2 separate regions of the Homo sapiens genome follow, and region 2 is linked to region 1. The links are contacts of gene promoters, found by promoter capture Hi-C in blood cells and fetal thymus (Javierre and others, 2016). All regions are on one chromosome and are shown on one strand. Each heading gives the region's core, a stretch centred on a gene start or on the middle of the fragment in contact. The rest is flanking DNA. Distances are from core to core; before and after follow the strand shown. Region 1 holds the start of STX1A (syntaxin 1A). Region 2 has its middle 21 kb from the start of VPS37D.

What was found. The method cuts DNA at HindIII sites, captures the fragments that hold promoters and counts their contacts. A CHiCAGO score of 5 or more calls a contact.
Region 2: a fragment that was not itself captured here is called in contact with the fragment with the promoter of STX1A in region 1 in 5 of 17 cell types (total CD8 T cells, erythroblasts, total CD4 T cells and 2 more); the score reaches 6.2 in total CD8 T cells.

What each region holds. Positions count from the first base shown.
Region 1 is chr7:73,718,078-73,724,340 of GRCh38, forward strand. STX1A (syntaxin 1A) reads right to left here and starts at 1,592. Exons shown (of 10, transcript NM_004603.4): 1 at 1,525-1,592. The coding sequence starts at 1,554. RefSeq lists silencers at 988-1,067, 1,178-1,237, 1,248-1,447, 1,508-1,707. The HindIII fragment of the contact is 14,118 bases long and covers 1-6,263 here.
Region 2 is chr7:73,643,694-73,650,191 of GRCh38, forward strand. It overlaps a transcript of MLXIPL not described here. Among named protein-coding and RNA genes, the nearest start is that of VPS37D, 21 kb to the right of the region's middle. RefSeq lists silencers at 4,378-4,447, 4,488-4,537. The HindIII fragment of the contact is 1,888 bases long and covers 354-2,241 here.

The DNA.
Region 1 (6,263 bases), core at 342-2,841:
ACATTACACCACACAGCCATCCGTCACCAGGAAAACACTCATTCTGACTCAACGGAGCTCAGGAAACTTGAGGGCAACCACAGGGGCCGCGGGGGAAGTGTTTAGAGCCCATATGCGACTTGAGGGACCATCTTCTTCCTTTGAAACCTCATGGGGTTTACACCAGGGGCTGGGCGCTCGGCCAGGAATAACAGGTCTGGAGGCAAAGTGGAGGCCGTGGTGCCAGAGCAAGTGGGGGACATGAAGGCAGGGGAGCCCAGGTCCCGGCTCCAGGATGCCCAGGAGGCAACCATGACATAATGGGGCAGACAGGCTCCAACTCAGGGAGCCTCTGGGTGGAGAAGACAAGCCGTGGGGTCAAATGCCCAAAGGACACTTGACATTTTCCATAGGAGGGGACCTTAGGGTTCTAGTTCCTAGCCCAGGGAGCGGGGTGGGGGGTGCTCCCAGGGATCAGCAGGCAGGGCTGCCAGCCAGGTGGCCAGCCAGGGGACCAGATGACCAGATGAGACTCAATCTAGTCTTGAGCCTTGATCCACCCCCCCTCCCCGACACACCCAGAGAGGCTTCATTTCCGTCGCTGTCCTCCACTCCCGGTCACCATCCTCCTGGGCTCCTCATCCCTAAGGGCAGAGGCCAGGGGAAGGGGACCCACGCAGGCTGCAGGGGTCTCTGGGCTGGGAGAAGGTGGGCTCTGACTCAGAACGTTTGTGCATCCTCCTACTCCCCCCAAACCCCGCCCCAGGAGCCACACCCCAGGGGTTTCCCAGATACAGGTAGAAAAATAGATCCAAGTCGCAAGGAACCCTGAAGGGTCTGGAAACGCCAGCCAGTGCTGCCCGAAAGCCCGAAGGTGGATAGGTGGACCGGGGGCGGGTGTGACGCCCCCCCCCCCATACCTGGGGCGGGCAGTGGATCCCTACTGCGACCAAGCAGAGGGGGAGCCACAGGTGATGGGAGCCACAGGTGACCAGGGTGGCCCGAGGAGGCCGCCACCACCCGACGATCAGGTTTCCGCAGCGCGCCCCGCAGCGGGGCCCCGCGCAGGGGACCGGCACCGGCCCACCGCGGTCCCCTCGTCTGTCTACACCAAGGAGGTTCCCACCGCGGTCCCCTCGTCTGTCTACACCGAGGGGGCACGGGAGGTCAGAGATGAGGGGCAGTGAGGGGGCCAGAGAAAGGGCCTGCTCTGCGGGAGGGGGAAGAGGTCCCGCCACCAAAACCCCATCATACCCTCCGAACCCCCCAAATCAAGAGGGCCCCGAAAAGTTTATCCAGGACCCCGGACTCCAGCCGACCGTCCACGTGTCAGCGCGGCCGAGCTCACGCGAGCCTGACCCCGAGTGGGTCCGAGGGGCGGAACCCGGAGGGGGGTCGAGGTCCCTGGCTCGCCCCGCTCCCTTCAGCCCTGGCTGGGGGCGCAGGAGCGGCCACCATCCTGGCCGCGGGAGCCGGGCGGGAAGTGTCCGGCGCGTTGGCGCTGGCGGCGGGCGGCGGGCGGCCGCGCGCTGGGGCCGGACTCACCGTGCGGAGCTCCTGGGTTCGGTCCTTCATGCTCCCGGGAGTGGCAGCGGCGCCGGCTGCAGCCGTGTGAGCCCCGCATGCGCGACGGCCGCCCCGCGGCTGCGCAGCGCCAGCCCGGCCCCGCCCCGGCCCCCGGGACCCCGGCCCCGCCCCACCCCGCCCGGGCCCCGCCCAGACCCCGCCCAGACCCCGCCCCACCCCGCACGAGCAGCCCCGTGGGGATCGAAGCCCTGGGGTCTCGTCCTGGACGTTCCGCACGCGTGATCGCTCCCGGGGATGGGTCCCCAGAGACCCTGCTGCCTCCTCTGCCCCAGCCCTGTCTCGTTTTTTATTTATTATTTTTGGAGACAGGGTCTCGCTCTGTCGCCCAGGCTGGAGTGCTGTGGTGCAATCATAGCTCACTGCAGCCTTGAGCTCCTGAGCTCAGGCAATCCTCCCGCCTCAGTCTCCTGGGTGGCTGGGACTAGAGTTGCTCGCCACTACTCCTGAATAATTTTCAAATATTTTGTAGAGACAGGGTCTTGCTATGTTACTCAGGCTGGTCTTGAACTCCTGTCCTCAAGCGATCCTCCCTCCTCCCAAAGCTCTGCGATTACAGGCGTGAGCCACCGTGCCTGGCTTCCAGCCTCTTCCCGACTTAGCAGCTCAGCATCCCTGTCCCAGAATCCGGTCCTCATCCTCAGATCCCTTCACTTCCCCAGAATTTGCTGAAGGTTGTAACTCCCTCCTTCATTTCATTACCTTGGGACCTCCTGCTCTCCCTTCTGTTCCCCAGCCAAAAACCTCCTGGAGAGTTCCAGTCTGGGAGCCTCCACCCTTCCCCCTTGCTCCCATCATCCAGTAGGGACTCAGGCACTGGCCTCTTCTTTCCCTAGGATTTCTCAGTTCACAGCTCTGATGCTGCGTGACCCACCCCTTTTTCCTGCAGGATGAAGGAACTCCTCTATCTTTTTATGTTTGTTTGTTTGTTTGATTATTTATTTATGAGATGGAGTTTCACTCTTGTCGCCCAGGCTGGAGTGCAGTGGCGCTATCTCAGCTCTGCCTCCTGGGTTCAAGCGAGTCTCCTGCCTCATCCTCCCAAGTAGCTGGGATTACAGGTGCCCACCACCACGCCCGGCTAATTTTTTGTATTTTTTAGTAGAGACAGGGTTTCACCATGTTGAGCAGGCTGGTCTCAAACTCTTGACCTCTTGATTCTCCCGCCTCGGCCTCCCAAAGTGCTGGGCTTATAGGCGTGAGCCACCGTGCCCGGCCTATTTTTTTTTTTTTTTTTTGAGACGGAGTCTCACTCTGTTGCCCAGTCTGGAGTGCAGTAGCACGATCTTGGCTCACTGCAACCTCCACCTCCCGAGTTCAAGCAATTCTCCTGCCTCAGCCTCCCAAGTAGCTTGAGATTACAGGCACCCACAACCACGCCTGGCTAATTTTTTTGTATTTTTAGTAGAGAAGGGGTTTCACCATGTTGTCCAGGCTGGTTTCGAACTCCTGACCTCAAGTGATCTGCCTGCCTCAGCCTCCCAAAGTGCTGGGATTACAGGTGTGAGCCACTGCACCCAGCCAGGAACTACTCTATCTTTGGGAAAGAGATTTGAGTTATGGCCCCCCTCTCCTCCTTTCCCTGCATCCCCAATCCTGAACTCTGGCTCTAGGCCTGAGGTTCTATTTTCTCTTTTTTCGTTTTTGTAAAGACGGGGTCTCCTCATGTTGCCCAGGCTGGTCTCAAAGTCCTAGCCTCAAGCGATCCTCCTGGCTTGGGCTTCCAAAGCACTGGGATTACACTTGGCCAATGTAGGTTCTATTTTCTATCTAGAAGCCTGGGGCCTGGCTTCCTCTAGGACTCATGGGAAAACCTGTGGAGGAGTGGGAGTGGGGAGGCCAGTCAACAGCAGATGTTCTTTTGAAGGTCCCTGCCAGCATCTTGTTGCAACAGTGGTCTCGCACACACCCCCATAAGCCCGCTGTGCCCTCCACCACCCCCAGCTGTCACTTCTGTGGCCCACACCCTCTTGACCTGAAGCCAAGCACATCCCTTCCCTTCCCCAGGACTGCCAAAGCATTGGAGCTCTGGAGCCAATCCAGCCCCCTGCTGCCCAGTGTGTCTGGGCCTGGCACCTCTCCCAGACTATGGGCACAGGTTAGCTGGCTGCCAGGCAAGCTAGGGACACTGTTCCAGCTTTCCCTTCTTCCCTGGAAAATCTGGCCCAAGACGGTCCGATGTGGCCTGGCAGAGGGAACAGCCACACCCTGTTCCAGTTGTCCCGGCTTCAACTTTGGGTGCCCTGCAGAATGGGCATTGATGGCGCCCCACTTCACAGAGGAAAAGTAAGGAGGTAAGTGCTAGAGGAACTTGCCCAGAGATGACAAGTGACAGGGGAGTCTGCCTGACTCCTGGTCTAGCCTGCAGGGTGAGTCAGTGGGGTGGGTCACAGGTATGCCCCCAGAGCCCAGTGTCTGGCCCCTTAGGGAGAGGGCAGGAAAGGGAGGCTCAGCTCCTGCCCTCTGAGAGCCCTGGTGTCACACCAAGCATCACTCATTGAGACGCATATTAAATAGTAGCATGAAAAATGAATAAAGAAATAAATGTGGCCAGGCACAGTGGCTCATGCCTGTAATCCAGCACTTTGGGAGGCCCAGGAGGGAGGATTGCTTGAGGCCAGGAGTTTAAGACCAGCCTGGACTCCATCTCTTAAAAAAAAAAAAAAAGTGTGCCTTTCACTTCTTTTTTTTGTTTGTTTGTTTTTTTAAGGCTGAGTCTCTTTCTGTCACCCAGGCTGCAGTGCAGTGGTGCAATCCAGGCTCACTACAACCTCCACCTCCCATGTTCAAGTGATTTTCCTGCCTCAGCTTCTTGAGCAGCTGGGATTACAGGCACCCGCCACCACGCCCAGCTAATTTTTGTATTTGTAGTAGAGATGGGGCGTCACCATGTTGGCCAGGCTGGTCTTGAACTCCTGACCTCAAATGATCTACCCGCCTTGGCCTCCCAAAGTGCTGGGATTACAGGTGTGAGGCACTGCACCCGGGCTTGCCCTTCTCTTTAAACTCTGTTTTTCTGCTAAGTCTTTTCCTCATTTAATCATTCATTCATTCATCAAACATTAAATGGGAAACCATGCTCTGGGGCCACTGTTCTGCACTCAAGATGTTCCCACTGCAGTGGGGGAGACAGACATGGTTTTGGTAGGTGAGGGAACCAGGGTGGCTTCCCAGAGGTGGTGACATTCGAACAGGGTGTTGCAGTGGGATTGCAGCAGGGAGTGGACAAAGGAAGGATGCTGGGGCAGGGGTGGGGGTGGGGAGCTCTCTAAAATGGAGCACTCTACCGGGAGCACCTCAGGAGCCTGCTGTGGCACTTGGGTGGACATAGGTGGGGGATGAGCCCAAGGAAGGGGGAGGCCTTGGATGCTAAACTATTGTGCAGAAAAGGGAAGCCCATCGAGGGCCAGATTATCATTCCTTTATTTATTTAGAGACCGAGTTTCACTCTTGTCATCCAGGCTGGAGTAAAATGGCACAATCTTGGCTCACTGCAACTTCCGCCTCCCGGGTTCAAGCAATTCTCCTGCCTCAGCCTCCCAGATAGCTGAGATTACAGGCATGTGCCACCACACCTGGCTAATTTTTTGTATTTTTAGTAGAGATGGAGTTTCTCCACCTTGGCCAGGCTGGTCTCGAATTCCTAACCTCAGGTGATCCACCCACCTCGGCCTCCCAAATTTCTGGGATTGCAGGCATGAGCTACCATACCCAGGCTTCATTCCTTCATTTAAAAAGTATTGGCCGGGCATGGTGGCTTATGCCTGTAATCCCAGCACTTTGGGAGGCTGAGGTGGGCGGATCACGAGGTCAGGAGATCGAGACCATCCTGGCTAACATGGTGAAACCCTGTCTCTACCAAAAATACAAAAAAAAAAAAAAAAAAAAAATTAGCCGGGCATGGTGGTGGGCGCCTGTAGTCCCAGATACTTGGGAGGCGGAGGCAGGAGAATGGCGTGAACCTGCGAGGCAGAGCTTGCAGTGAGCAGAGATCGCACCACTGCACTCCAGCCTGGGCGAAAGAGCGAGATTCCGTCTCAAAAAAAAAAAAGTATTTATTAGGCTGAGTGTGGTGGTGGCTCACACCAGTAATCCCAGCACTTTGGGAGGCCGAGGCAGGAGGATCGCTTGAGGCCAGAAGTTCAAGATCAACCTGGGCAACACACGGAGACCCTGTCTCCAAAGAAAAATATTTTTCTAAAAATTAGCTGAGCATCGTGGTGCACACCTGTACTCCCAGCTACTTAGGAGGCTGAGGTGGGAGGACTGCTTGAGCCCAGGAGTTTGAGCCTTCAGTGAGCCATGATTGTGCCACTCTACTCCAGCCTGGGCAACAGAGTGAGACCCTGTCCAAAAATATATACAAATAAAAAAGTATTTATTGAGCATCTACTATGTGCCCGCTATTCTAGATGTTGGGAATATGGCAGAAAAAAAGATGGACAAGCCCTTGCCCCCATGCAGTCTGTGGTCTAGTAAAGATGCCAAACACACAAATAAATAACATATATAATGGTGATGATATGCTACAAGGAAAGACGGGGTAGGAACTACTTACTGGGTTTGAGTGAGGAATTCCAGTTTTACTGGTACAGTTCAAGTTTTTTTTTCTTCTTCTTTTTTTTCTTTTTTCTTCTTTTTTTTTTTTTTTGAGACAGAGTTTTGCTCTTGTTGCCCAGGCTGGAGTGCAATGGCACGAT
Region 2 (6,498 bases), core at 48-2,547, 75 kb before region 1:
GTCAGGTAAATCCACCCAAGACTGAGCTAATCAGCAGGTACTAGGACAGAGGGGACAGCTGGCACATAGTAGACACTTTATTTTATTTTTTGGAGGCAAGGTGTTGCTCTTTTGCTTAGACTTCAGTGCAGCGGCACCACCATGGCTCACTGCAACTTTGAACTCCTGGCTCAAGTGATCCTCCCGCCTCAGCCTCCCAAGTAGCTGGGACTACAGGTGTGCATCACCACCCCTGGCTAATTTTTAAAAATTTTTATATAGATGGGGGGTCTCACTATGTTGCCCAGGCTGGTCTCAAAGTCCTGGGCTCAAGCAATCCTTCTGCCTCAGCCTCCTGAGTGGCTGGGACTATAAGCTTGTGCCACCATGCTTGGCTAATTTTTTTGTAGAGACAGGGTCTCACTAGGCTGCCCAGACTGGTCCCAAACTTCTGGTCTCAAGCAATCCTCCTGCCTTGGCCTCCCAAAGCTCTGATATTACAGATGTGAGCCACTGCACCTGGCTGAGGACTGGTTTTGTCTTTTTTTTTTTTGAAGCTGAGTTTAGCTCTTTCTCCCAGGCTGGAGTGAAGTGGCTTGATCTCGGCTCACTGCAACCTCCACCCCCAGGCTTCAAGTGATTCTCCTGCCTTAGGACCTCCCAAGTAGCTGGGATTACAGGTGCCCGCCAACATGCCCGGCTAATTTTTGTATTTTTAGTAGAGACAGGGTTTTGCCATGTTGGCCAGGCTGGTCTTGAACTCCTGACCTCAGACGATCCACCCGTCTCAGCCTCCCAAAGTGTTAAAATTGCAGACACGAGCCACTGTGCCTTGCCGGTTTTCTCATCTTTAAAATGGCTATGACTATGTGATGTTATTGTGCAGTTGTTGCAAAGATGAAATGAAATATGTAAGTGAGAGCCAGTGGTACCTGGTAAATGTGGGTTTTCTTCTTCTGTCCCTCTTTTCCTCCCCCCAGCCCGCCCTTTCTTCTTTCCTTCCTTCCTGGTCGACATCTCTGATTACAATGTCAGAGAACCAGGAGCTGTAGGACAAAGAAGATAGGGCGACAATCTCCTCCAGGGGACTCAGGGATGGAAAACGCTTCTCAGACTGTTGCAGCAGGTGACAGTCATCTGCTCTGCCCAGAATCTCCTGGCCTCTCCCCTGCTGGATAACTGGCCCCATGCCGGCCCCATCAGGGCATCAGGCCCCTGGACTGAGATAGAAAGTGGATCCCAGGAAGCATATCTCTCGCCCAAAGTCACACTGCTAATGGGGCTGAATATGGGACAAGAACTTTTGTGACTACCCAAGCCAGCTAGCAGGGGGTGGCCTGGGATTCTGGGTAGAGCATTTTTTTTTTTTTAAGAGAGGGGTTCTTGCTCTGTTGCCCAGGCTGGAATGCAGTGGTGACATCATAGCTCACTGCAGCCTCAAACTCCTGGTCTCAAGTGATCGTCCTGTGTCAGCCTCCTGAGTAGCTATGACTATATGCCTGTGCCACCACACCTGGCTAATTTTTTAATTTGTTGCAGAGACACAGATCTTTCTATGCTGTCCAGGCTGGTCTTGAACTCCTGGCCTCAAGCAACCCTCCCACTTTGGCCTCCCAAAGTGTTGAGATTACAGGCTTGAGCCACTGCCTCTGGCCCTAGGGCAGTAGTTGTCTGTCTCTTATTTATCAGTGCCAGGACCTACCCTGGGAATATTCTGTTCACTCTTCCCTTGTTGGGGGCCCCCTTCTCCAAGGTCAGCTTAGCTAACTTCAAAGAGGAGAGACAGAGCCACCTTGCCCCTAAGTTTCAGGAGTGAGAAAGATGGGTGGGGAGGGGGTGGAGGTGGGTGAGGTGGGCGCAGGACACATGGACACCCATGAGCTGACCTGGGAGGTTGGGGGTCAGCCAATGTAATCCCCTCTTGTGTGTTTCTCCCTGAATGCAGAGAATGCACCACCCATGTTGCTTCCAGACCTCCTCCCAGCTCTGCTCAACAGTCCAGGCGAGCCCATTTAACCCCAGGTTACAGGTGTGCAGAGTGAAGCCCGGAGGAGGACAGGGCTTGCCAAGGTCACTGACAGTAGTGGGAACAGAAACCAGGGCTTTGGAGCCAAGATGCTTGGGTTTGAATATCAGCTTTGCCGTTCCCAGGCTGTGTGACCTTGAGCCAGAGCCTTGACCTCTCTGAGCCTGTTTCCTCATCTGTAAAATGGAGATCTTTTCCTTCTCTGGTTATCAGGAAGAAGGAAACAGTGCCAGAAAAGCTTGTGCAGTGCCTGGCTTGCAGTAAATGCATAGCAAACCCCAGTTCCTCTTCCTCTTCTCCTATCTGAACAGCAATCCTAAGCCTGCACGTCCCCTCTCTCTTCCCTCCTCTGCCCCACATCTGTAGCCAAAACTTTTTCTTTGGCCCTAACCAGAGAGTGAGGACTGCACTAATGATGGCCTCTCCCAGCCCCTGACAAACCCAACACATGTCTAAGCTTGCATTTAGCCACCACAGGGCTGGCAGCAGGGCCAAAGACAGCCCCGGGGAGGGTACCCAGGGAGGGCCATTGCCTGAAGGCACTAGAGACTCTGGGCAAGTGTGGCTGCAGGAGCCTCGGAGACATGACCTCTCCCACTTCCACGCTTCCAGTCCACTCTTCCATCCCACTCTACAGCCTGCAGAAGCTCATATGCCAGCCCTCCACTTCAGCTGACAAACATCATCTCCACCAGTGCCACCCCTATATCGGCCAGAGGATTTCAATCACAGGATTCCAAGACACCAGGCGGATGCTTCCTGGACCCTGGCTCTGAGCTGCCCTCCCATGTGGTCCCCAGGCTGAGTCCCAACCCCAGCCTGAGCCCCAACCCTGATTCTAAACTGAGCCCTGGCCTGGCTCAGCCAGCAGACTGTGTCCTTAGGGGGCAATTAGGGAGAAGTGAGATGGGTCATCTTCTCAAGATGGGGAAACTCCTGGCTACTACAGCTCAGACCTCTTCTGGTATTACAGAATCTTCCTCCTCTCCCAGAAGCTACCCTAGGCTGAGGAGCTGAGCTTCCCTGGGGCGGACCTGAGATTCCCAGACCTGTATTCTGAGACTTCTCCTGCATCTGAGGGCCTGGGCAGGACATGGGGCAGGGGAGTTGCTGAGTGTAAGATAAGTTCTTGGGCAAAGTGGGGACCAGCTCAGCTCTCATAGATCCCTGGTCCCCCTGACTTCCTGACTCAGCTGACCCTGTAACACCATCCCCCTTGTGAAGGCCCAGAGGGACTTGGTTGGAGTGGGCCACACTGTCCCCCAAAGCAACCTGGTGTTCCGTTTTACTCTGTCCCCATCTCCACACGAGTGGCCCAGGAACAGTAAACCTTCCCATGTCACGGAGGGAGAGCCAGGCCCAGAGACGGAAAGTCGTGCGCCCAAGGTCACACAGTCAGACACAGACAAGAACCCAAAGCTCCCAAACCCAGCCCAGAGGTGGGGGCAGGGTGGCTGGGAGGAAGCCCTGGCTTTCCCCCCTGGGCAGAGCAGCAGGAGTGCCGGCCACCACTTCTGTGGCCCCCACCTGTTGGCTAGAAGCCTAGGGGCCAGAATCCACATACCCCACCCTGCCATCTCCCTTCTTTCTGTCCCAGCCAGGGGCAGTTTTGGTCCTCCTCATCCCAGGGCCCACCTGGACAGGGTTTCTCCACTGGCATGTCACCTGCCCAGGGCAGGGAGAGCCAGAGGGAGGAAGGCCCTCCCTCCTGACTCCCTGGGCCCCCTCTCAGCTCCTGGGAGAACCTCCCAGACCAGGATGGAAGCCCAGCCCAGTCCAGCCAGTGGGAGACACGGGGCTTCCAGGACCCGTGTGCACTTCACCTTCTAGCAGGATGAATTCTTGGATTCCTGATCCGGAGTCCTCCCTGGGGTACGAGTTTGCCTCCTTCCTCCTGGCAGCTGAGGCTGAGCGAGGAGGCCACATAAGCCTATGAACCCCTTCAACCCAGCTGAGCCAGAGACGCGCGCCTCTATGGGCAGAGGGGAAACTGAGGCCCAGCACAGAGGCGGATCCAATTCCCCTTGGGTGAGGCCCCTGCACCCACCTGATGACGCGGGGGCTCCACGCCCTCACCTGGAATCCGCTCGACCTGCAGAGGGGCGCGGCGCGGCCAGGGGCGGGCGGCGGGCGGCGGGGGCGCTGCGGGGATGCTTGGGACCGCCGGACCGCGCCCGGCGCCTTCTCCGCGCGGGCGGCAGAGGGCTCCGTGCGCTGCGCCGCGGGCCCGGCTTTTAGCAGCGGGTGTGGACGCGGGCACCCCCGCCCCGCTCCGAGGTGTCCTTTGCCCCTTGATCTGGTGCCTCCTTCTCTCCTTAGCACGTGGGCGGCAGCCGCTCAGCCGCTCAGAGGCCTGTGGGGCAGCCATGGCCCGGGCCCTGGGCTCGGGCGCCTGCCAATCCCCGTCTGCCGCCGGCTCGTGCCCGCTCACCTTTAACCCCCTCTACTTTCCCCGGGGGCTCGGTGCCCGGCCCCCAGCCGCGGGCTGGGCTCGGGGAGGGAGGAGCCGCAGGTGTGGGGCCACCCCAGGTGGGCAGAGAAAGACGCTGGGACCGCCTCGGGCTCCTCCCAGAGCCCCAGCCCGGCTTTGAACCTCCTCCTAGTCCCTGAGTCCCCCCAGCACTCTCTCTCACTCTCATCCCTCACTCTTACTCTCTTCTCTCCCCGCTTTCTCTCTTTCTCTCTCTCCCCCTCCCTTTCCTCTCCCTCTCTCTTCTCTCCTCCAGGCTCCTCTCTCCCTCTCCCCTCACTTTCTCTCTACCCCCTCTTCTCTCTCCCCCTTCTCTCATCTCTCTCATTCTCCCCCTTCCTCTCTTTCCCTCTCTCTCTCCTCTCTCTCTGTCTCTCACTCTGTCTCTCTCCTCTATCTCTCTCACTTTCTCTTTCTCTCTCTATTCCCCTCCTTTTTCACTCTCCCCCCTCTCTCCTCTCTCTCTCTCATTCTCCCCCTCCTCTTTCTTTCTCTCTCTCTCTCACACTGTCTCTCTGTCCCTTGTCTCTCCCTGCCCCGTCTCTCTCCCTCTGTCTTCTCTCTTTCCCTCTGACCCTGGCTCTCCTCTCTCTCTCCCACCCTCCTCTCTCTCTCCTTTACTTTCTCTCTATCCCCTCCTCTCTCTCTCCTTTCTCTTCTCTTTTTCTCTCTCCCTCTCTCCCCCCTCTCTCTCTCATTCTCCTCCCTCTCTTTCCATCTCTCTCCTCTCTCTGTCTCTCACTCTGTCTCTCTCCCTCTCTCTCCTCTCTCTCTCACTTTCTGACTTTCTCTCTCTCCCCCCTCCTCTCTTTCTCCCCCCTCTCTCTTTCTCTCTCATTCTCCCCCCTTTCCCTCTCTCTCCTCTCTCTCTCACTCTGTCTCTCTCCCTCTCTCTCTCCTCTCTCTCTCTCACTTTCTCTCTGTCTCTACCCCCTCCTCTTTCTCTCTCTCCCTCTCTCTCCTCTCTCTCTCTCTCATTCTCCCCCCTTGCCTTTCTCTCTTTCCCTCTCTCACTCCCTCTCCCCCTTCTCTCTCCCTTTCTCTTCTCTCTTTCCTTCTCTCTGTCTCTCACTCTGTCTCTCCCCCTCCTTTCCCCCCCTCTCTCTTCCTCTCCTCTCCCTCTCTGTCTCTCCCTCTGTCTCTGTCTCTCTCTCTCTCTCACTGTCTATCTCCTGTCTCTCTCTCATCTGGCTCACTGAGCCCCATTCATTCCCTCTTTGACCAGCTTCATCCCATGCTCCCTCTGAGTCCCCCCTCAAGCCCCCACCCTCCCTGCCCTTGACATCACATCCCCTCCCTAAACCCCACTCCCCTCCCTGAGCCCCCATTCCTCACCCCTCCCTGAGGCCCTTCCTGCCTTCCGGGGCCCACTGACTTCCCCTCTCTTGCTCTTAGTGCTGTGTCCTCTCAACTCTTTTTTTTTAAGCAATGGGTTCTCACTATGTTGCCCACGTTGGTCTCTATCTCCTGGTCTTAAGCAATCCTCCCACCTCGACCTCCCAAAGTGCTGGGATTACAGGTGCAAGCCACTGGGCCTGGCCCAGACTCTTACATTTACTCCACAAACATCCTTAAACACCCTTGGCGTAGCAGCCCAGTGAGAGAGCGGGATAGGCCAGCGGTGGTATCAGTTTCAAAGTCCAGGATGGATGCCTCCAAGTCCTCAGAGGTCCTGTGGAGTAGGCACCACCTGGGAAGGGGGCATTCAGGACCTCAGCTTGCCTGCCAGCTTCAAGGGGCCGTGTGGGGTAGAAGGAAGGATCCCCCTGGCCACCGCTCGGCCAGGAGCGGGCAGTGTGGGATGGAAAGAAGAAAGGGCTTTCACAGCCACCCTACCCAGCAATGAGGCAGCTTCCTCCCAGCCCCACGGGCTTCCTTCCTTCTACGGCTAGCGGGGGGCAGCAGAGGCAGAAGGGATCCTGCCAATAATGCCCCTCAGAGTCCCCTGGTGATGGCAGGAGGTAGAGCGCAGGGGGAAGGCCGGGGGCATGCCGGAGGATGAGGCTGAGCCCGAGCCCAGAAG